Linked DNA regions of Homo sapiens: region 1 is linked to region 2. Evidence: promoter capture Hi-C in 16 types of primary human blood cells and fetal thymus (Javierre and others, 2016). All regions are on one chromosome and are shown on one strand. The core of a region is centred on a gene start or on the middle of the fragment in contact, and the rest is flanking DNA. Distances in the headings are between cores, read along the strand shown.

Region 1 (4,050 bases), core at 147-2,646, 460 kb before region 2:
TATTATGCTGAGGTCAGAATGTCTGTACATTCTGTATTCAAAGAACAGCTGTGGTTATGCTCTTAGAGCATAGGTACTGGCCTAGAATCAGAACACTTAAGAGTTGTCCTTGATCATCAAATCTGCAAGCTTAATGCAAATCACCTGGAGTCTCAATTTCCTTGTCCATCAAATATTCAGAGGGAGAGAGATCCTAGGATGTTGAACCTTTAAGTTGGAAAAGTCTGTGATTATAAGAACATCTCAACGGTGCATGCTTAGCCCTTAAAATGTTCATCAAGGAATTTTGGTCCTTTCTATATGTCTAGGCCTCTAGGTGGCTCCAAGCTACAGGCTTATATGTGTATATAAGGTAAAGTCCTATACATGTCTCTAAGGTATAGGCCCCTAGAAGTCTATGTACATGGTTATAGATCTATATATATCTATCAAAGATCAGCTTCTAAGGGCCTAAAAGCTGCAAGCCAATATGTGTCCATAAAGTGTAGGCCTAGGTATGTCTACAATGTTTAGACCTAGGTGTGGCTATAAGGTATGAGGTAATGCTTGTCTGTAAGGTTTAGGTTCATATAAGTCTCAAATGTCTTGATAATGTCCCAAAGGGAGTCGAGGAATTAGTTAAATTACCTTGATAAGATTTTATCTAGTTTTTGGACTAAAGATAAACTCTACAATTATACTATGAGGAATAAAAAAGACAGGAACAAACAATCATGCACATACATATACATATATAAAATTATTTCTTGGAAATATAAGGAAGAAGTCTGTACAAAATACAGATTTAATAATAAGTAAGTTCTTTTCATTGTTGGGAATTGAAAAGGAAAACATATAAAATCTTTTTAATGAAGCTTTGTAAGCTGTTAAATCAAAATCAATGGTTTGGTGACTGTTTTTAATGCTCCTAACAAAAAGAAAAAAAAACTCTTTATATCTTTCCCCTGTTAGCACTTAGTCTTACTGCCACTGGCAGGACTTAAATTCTTTAAGCTTAGCCTTGTCCTAAAGGAGAAATAGCCATTATGATTTGTTGCCTTTGGGAATGATGTGTGATTGATGAGGGCTCAAATGTTCCAATGAGGGAAGTATGAGGCCAAATACAGTTTGACAGATGTCCCAAACAATAATATTAATAGTTTACATTTATTATTGTCACTATCTTTTCAAATGCTTTGATTAGATTCCCAGTGTACGTTATGTACAAAATATTGTTTCTTGTTCATATTACTATGGTCATCTCAATGAGGCAATCAAAACCCACATGAAAAATTCTTCACAAAACACACAAAATATCCCAAAAGTGTTTTTGTGGATTGCTGCTTTTTATAGCTTCTATTAACTAGGTCCTGACAGTGCAGGGCGTGTCACTAAACATTTATGAATGACCACAGAATAGAACTTCATCTCATTTACTATATGTGCACATAATAATCTTTTATGAATCCTAATATCTTTCAAAACACATCTTGAAAAACCTACAATTTTTTTGGCTTATAGAAATTGCTGAGAAAAGATGAGAGAAGAACTCTATTTTTCTGCTTTTAAACTAATTTCCCATCATTTGCAGATCACTCAGCTTTCAAATTTTCACATAAGGAAAGAACTACAATTATCCAGCTCTGGCCTCTTAAACCCATGGTTTAGACTTTGCTTTATCCTGACTCCAGATACCTTCTAGGACTGTAAAACATATCGGTAGATCCTCTTTTCATCACCTGACTGCTTAGAAATAGTTTGTATACCACTTCTCAAAAGAACACATTTATGTGGCCAACAAACATATGAAAAAAAGCTTATCATCACTGGTCATTACAGAAATAAACCAAAACCACAATGAGATACCATCTCATGCCAGTTAGAATGTGATCATTAAAAAGTCAGGAAACAACAGATGCTGAAGAGGATGTGGAGAAATAGGAACACTTTTATACTGTTGGTGGGAGTGTAAATTAGTTCCATCATTGTGGAAAACAGTGTGGTGATTCCTCAAGGATCTAGAACCATAAATACCATTTGACCCATTACTGGGTATATACCCAAAGGATTATAAATCATTCTACTGTAAAGACACATGCACATGTATATTTATTGCAGCACTGTTCACAATAGCAAAGACTTGGAACCAACCCAAATATCCATCAATGAGAGACTGGATAAGGAAAATATGGCACGTATACACCATGGAATACCATGCAGCCATAAAACAAGATGAGTTCATGTGTTTACAGGGACATGGATGAAGCTGGAAACCATCATTCTCAGCAAACTAATACAAGAACAGAAAACCAAACACCACATGTTCTCACTCATAAGTGGGAGTTGAAAAATGAGAACACATGGACACAGAGAGGGGAACATCACACACCAGGGCCTGTTGGGGGCTGGGGGGCTGAGGGGGATAGCATTAGGAGAAATACCTAATGTAGATGACCAGTTGATGGGTGCAGCAAACCACCATAGCATGTGTATATCTATGTAACAAACCTGCATGTTCTGCACATGTATCCCAGAACTTAAAGTATAATTAAAAAATTAAATTAAAAAAAAAAGAAATAGTTTGTCTACTCAGAGCTCCATATGGAGGGACGTTTTGGGTCAGACATGTCAGCAGTGGAAGTCATTTAAGACAAATTGCCCCTGGGTTGAGACCGTTTTCTGATGCCAAAGACTATGAAGAAAATGTAACCTGAGTTCTCTGAATGAACTTTTCACCACTGGCACGTGTGGATGCAAGGGAGCACAGAGCAGAGGGAAGAGGCGGTGCAGTTCAGCGTGAGTCCTTACTTAAGAGCATCATTCTAGTTATTGTCCAAATCCAGATATCTAGTTTTTTCCAAAAAAAAGTTCACCAACCAGATTGCTAAAAAAAAGTTCACCGACCAGGTCAACCTGTATAAACTGGGATTGTTTGAGGCAAACTGGGATGTACGGTCACACTGTCATCCCTGGCTGGGCAACCTTTTATGCATTATGCCCTGTCTCTGGGCCTCAGTTGTCTTACATGAAAAAGGAGATTAACTGTACCTGCCTGACCTATCTCAGAGGATTATGGGAAACTTAATGCAGTAATGTTTATCAAAGCACTTTGGTAACCTAGAAAAACTATATAATAAAAAGATAAGCATCATTACTATTGATGCTAACATGTGATTAGACAAGTCATAAGAGCCTGAAAAATCCAAAAGAATGGAAAAAAGGGATTTGCACTACACCATTAGGCTTTCTGGGATATGTTTATTTATGTCTCTTGTATTATTTATTAAGGATTTTATTTAAATATCCTTTATATAGTTGTTGTACAGAAAAAATCTGCCACTTCTCACTTTATTTTATTCTCATAGGATGGCCAAACCATGGATAATCCTCAATAGTAGATAACTGAAAAAGAAATTTACATTCTAAATGCATTATGGTGTATATAGGTAATTATTTTCCAGACTGAATATTCTACGGATTCACTTCCAAACATAACCTTTTAGAGGTTTAAGTTGACTGGATAATCATCAGTTCACGTGGAAAAGATCTGGCTTTTGTTGATTGCAAGTTTCATTCATGCTAATGGTGAACCTGGGCTGCCAAAAAACATCCAGGCTTCAGGTTCTTTGGTGGAAGTCCAGGCAGGGAAGGCCAGGCACAGTGGCTCACACCTGTAATCCCAGCACTTTGGGAGGCTGAGGTGGGCAGATCACCTGAAGCCGGGAGTTTGAGACCAGCCTGGCCAACACAGCAAAACCCCGTATCTACTAAAAATACAAAAATTAGCCGGTCATGGTGGCGCATGCCTGTAATGCCAGCTACTCAGGAGGCTGAGGTAGGAGAATTGCTTGAACCCAGGAGGCAGAGATTACAGTGAGCCAAGATCGCACCACCGCACTCCAGCCTGGGCAACAAGAGCGAGACTCTGTCTCAAAAAAAAAAAAAAAAGAAAAATGCAGGGGAAGAAGGTCCTCTGTATTCAACACTGGTCAGTCCACACCCGGAATAAATGGTCCAGGACATCCGGAGGCATTCCAGACAAGAGTGATGAAGGCAGCAAAGGTCTGGGAA
Region 2 (3,803 bases), core at 1,147-3,646:
TGAACTGTGCCCTTATCAAGTGCCCAGGTACTCACATTCTCTCAGACTAAGCCCACCTTACTTCCCGGGATGCTAATAACAAACATCTAACTGGCTTTGATCTCCTTTGACCTGCTGTGTCCAGGACCAAGCCTTTATACTGATGACCAGATCTCTCTATCCACACCAGACATACATGGAACTCCTACATACAGGCAACTGCCTGGGAAAAGTGTTCTCTCCTTTCCTGCTTTGAGCACACATCAGTGGCACAGAGTGGGTAACTGGAACACGTGTTTAATTTGAAGCACTCTGTCCTCCCAACCTGCCTTCTTTGTATCCTCCTTAAAAAACCAATTAACATGGTCAAGCAGGTGATCTGAATTGCCTATGGTACGTGCAAGGTAGTAGATAATATTAAACCCCTTATTCCCATCTACCTTAGGTATTGTTATCTACTCTTAACAAAGCTTTCCCTTTAACTTCCTTAACTCCAGGCATTACAGCCTTTACTTAAGATTCTACAGCAATACTACCAGGGCCCAAGATACCCACACAACACTGAGATTATCCACATTTCCTATTAGGGAGTTGGGTTTCTGTGGCCCACCAGCTGAGTATGTTTGCCATCATTTTCTCCCTGGGCTCTTCTAAGTCTTGATTTTTAAGCTGAGGTGCTCATATTCCTGTGCACCTTCTGCAATCCTGAGCGTTACCTGTGCTGTCTACTTCTCTATCAAGTCAGGACCCTCTACTCCGACAGCCGCCTGAACTAGAAACCTAAACGGAACAGACTCGCAGCTAGAAGCAGAGCTCTGGTGTGAAGTACCATTTTCTGTTAATTACCCAGCTCCCACTCCACATTTCGGAACTTCCAGGTTCCTTCCCTGAGGCCCCCGGTGCAGAGGATTCCCCTTTAGTTCACTTGTGCTCGGTCCTCCTCTCCCAAATGCAGGTCCACTCACACTTCCTGGAAGTCACAGTTGTACCTACTTCATCTTATCTGGCTTAATAATAAACCAAACTCGTGACAGCCCAGACCTCTGAAGCACATCCTGTGGCCCGATTATCTCTGATGTCCTTAGCACCTTATTGCCTCCAGTATACACAAGTTTAGGAAATCATCTCAAGTGGACTGACACGTGCTTCCTTCACTTTTCCTCTTAAAATGCTCATGTGAATGGTAAGCTTCTCAAATTTGCAGCAGCGCTGGGATTTTTTATGGAATTGAGAAAGGCAGGGCCTGACTTTCCACTCTTTAAAGAGTTCACCGATTTCCCTTAGGAGTTTCTCAAGACTCAAAAAAGGAAAAGAAAGAGAAAAAGGAAGGTAGAAAGCAATGTAGGTATTAACCATTTTTTCTGGTACTCTTCAAACCCAAAACTACTATAGAGGGCGTTAGGAATTCCCCCTGGCTACCAGGTGAAGCAGCGCGAGTCCGATTCCTGACAGGCGAGCACCAGAGAGGATGCGGAGTTTTGGTCGTTAGTTTAGAGATAACATCTGGATGCGGGGGCTTGTCTTACCAACCACTGGAGACACCAGGAAGGACGAAATAATGGGCTAATACAGAAAGAACATAGAAAAGGGTCCCAGATACCCAAAGCCTCCTGGCCTCTCCGTCGTCACCTGGAATGGGTTGCAAAGCCTTGGCACAGGCAGCTGGGCTGTGTCCCCTCCCGCCGCGCGCCCCGGGCCGCCCGGACGGCACCTCCTTACCTTGCGGGAGTACGGGGGCTTGCTCAGGTGGATGCCGTCACGGACGAGCTTATCCCTGATCATGATCTTCAGCTTCAGTTTGGGGTAGCTCACCAGCTCCCTGCTGCGGGGGGCGGTCGTGTGGCCGCGAGAGTCCCCGCGGGTGCCCTGGGCCGGGCCGCCGCACGGCTCCCCCCGGCGGCCGGTGGGGACGGCGTCGGCGGGCGGCCCGGGGGGCGCCGGCTGCGGCTCAAGCGTGAAGTAGAGGCCGGCGGCGTTGGCGTCCTGCTCCCGCAGCCGGCGCACGGCCTCCAGGATACGGCGGCGGTGCGCGGGCGCCAGCACCCCGATGGCATCCAGGTCCGGGTCCCCGATCTGCTTGCACACCTCCAGGTCATCGTAGCCGTTATCCACGAAGGACTCCGCGTACTGCGGAAGCTGCAGCGCTTTGAGCCACTCGTAAACTATGTTGGTGCACATGGTGGGACCGGGAACCCCGCCGCCGAGCACCTTCCCAGCGCCCAAATGGCACGGGCGGCACCAGTTCTTGGAACTTTTAATCCTCTCCTCCAAGGGGAAAAGGGTATCGCAGTAAAGTTTTCCTTTTAAAGGAAAGGCTCGGGCAGGAGACGGAAAACCATCAGAAGAAGCCTGAGGAAGGGAGAAGCGAACAAGCAGCAAAGTGAATTCCCCAAGCAGCAGCGGAGCTCGCAGGCACTGGCTGCTGGGCTGAGCAAGGCTCCGCGCCGCCCCTGGATGCGCCGCCGACGCTGCCGCCGCGGGGAGGGGCGCGCGACTGGCGCGGGAGGGGGCGGAGACGGGAGGGGCCGGGGCACACCCCTCGGACCTGCGCCGGGTCAGCGCTGCGCAGTGCCGCCCGCGAGTTTTCCCAGCCGGGACGGTCCGGCGGCTGCGCGCCGCATCTCGCGCTCTGGCAGCCGCCGCCGCCGCTGGCGCGCTCCGCGCCGCGAGGCGACTTCTCCACGCAGACCCGCGGCCGCTGGGAGCGCCTAGTCTTCGCGAGTGTCAGTCACTGTAGTCCTCCCGGCGGGAAGCCGGTGGCTTCTACGCTGCTGGGCTCCGTTGGCTGCCCTGGGTTGCTTTTCACATTTCTGTTTAATCTGACTCTTCTACCCGTGGAAGTCTGTGCTCACTTCTTCCCGACCCTGCCGGACTCCAGCTTCCGCGCCCGCTGGCAGCCCAAGGACACGTCCCGCCGCCCCACGGCGCTGGGGACGCTGCGGGGTTCAGTGTCCCTTCCTTCCGGATCCGCGTTTGAATCCCCCTTCCTCGGATCCCGTACGCAGCCCAGAGCCCGGCGATCTGACTTCTTCCGTGGGCGGCCACTCAGTGACCCGAGCGGCGGCGTTTTGGCCCGGAGGGTGGGCGCAACGTGGGGACCGCCCGGGTCCAGCCGGCTTGCGCGCCGCCCCTCCTCGCTGCAGCTGGGCACGTTGGGCGGCAGGAGAGGCTGCTGTCTTCCTGGCTCTCCCTTCCTAAGCTCCCGGGTCTGCGAAAGTTTGGGGTGGGTTGTACTTTCTCCTAGGTCAGTGTGTCCCACCCGGTACCCCACCCTCCTTTCTGCCCGGCCCCTCCCCCTCGTCGGCGCTATGCTTTCTCTCCGGGCCCCCCACCTAGTATACTGCACGGGCTCCCGGGGTGGCTTTGCCCCCGGGGACACTGCCAGGCGTTCGGTCCTGGAGCCCGGGAATCCGAGCCTATCCTCTCGCTCCCGCCCGGGGATCGCGTGAAAATCAATAGAGCACCACCCAGCTCGTGTTGGAAGGGACGCTCAGACATCTCCGCCCACGGCATTTTCCCTCTAGGAGGTAACAAAATCAATCGAGTTTCCCCATCATGCCAATGTCTGAGCAGCCTCTTGGGACTGGGGACTCGAGTGGCAGGTGGAACAGACCAAGCGCCTGGGCCCCATTTCCCGGTGTCTGACCTCTTCTTGGGACTAAGGGAAGTGAGGGACGGCGGGGGCAGGTACTGTCTCCTCTCTTTCCGCAGAAGGGCGATTCAGCTTCGCACCTGAGCTGTTTAAGGACCAGATCTGACCTTTTTTTCTGAAGATTGCCCGTGGGGCGTGCCAGTCTCTCGCCCGACCTTGGGAAGTGGACAAG

Evidence for each region. Contacts are between HindIII fragments. The CHiCAGO score rates a contact against its expected background, and 5 or more counts as called.
Region 1: a contact is called between a fragment that was not itself captured here and the fragment with the promoter of SAMD5 in region 2, in 3 of 17 cell types (megakaryocytes, erythroblasts and endothelial precursors). The highest score is 8.7, in megakaryocytes.

What each region holds. Positions count from the first base shown.
Region 1 is chr6:147,967,444-147,971,493 of GRCh38, reverse strand. No RefSeq gene overlaps it. Among named protein-coding and RNA genes, the nearest start is that of SASH1, 370 kb to the left of the region's middle. The HindIII fragment of the contact is 802 bases long and covers 996-1,797 here.
Region 2 is chr6:147,507,283-147,511,085 of GRCh38, reverse strand. SAMD5 (sterile alpha motif domain containing 5) reads right to left here and starts at 2,396. Exons shown (of 2, transcript NM_001030060.3): 1 at 1,699-2,396. The coding sequence starts at 2,157. The HindIII fragment of the contact is 12,433 bases long and covers 1,170-3,803 here.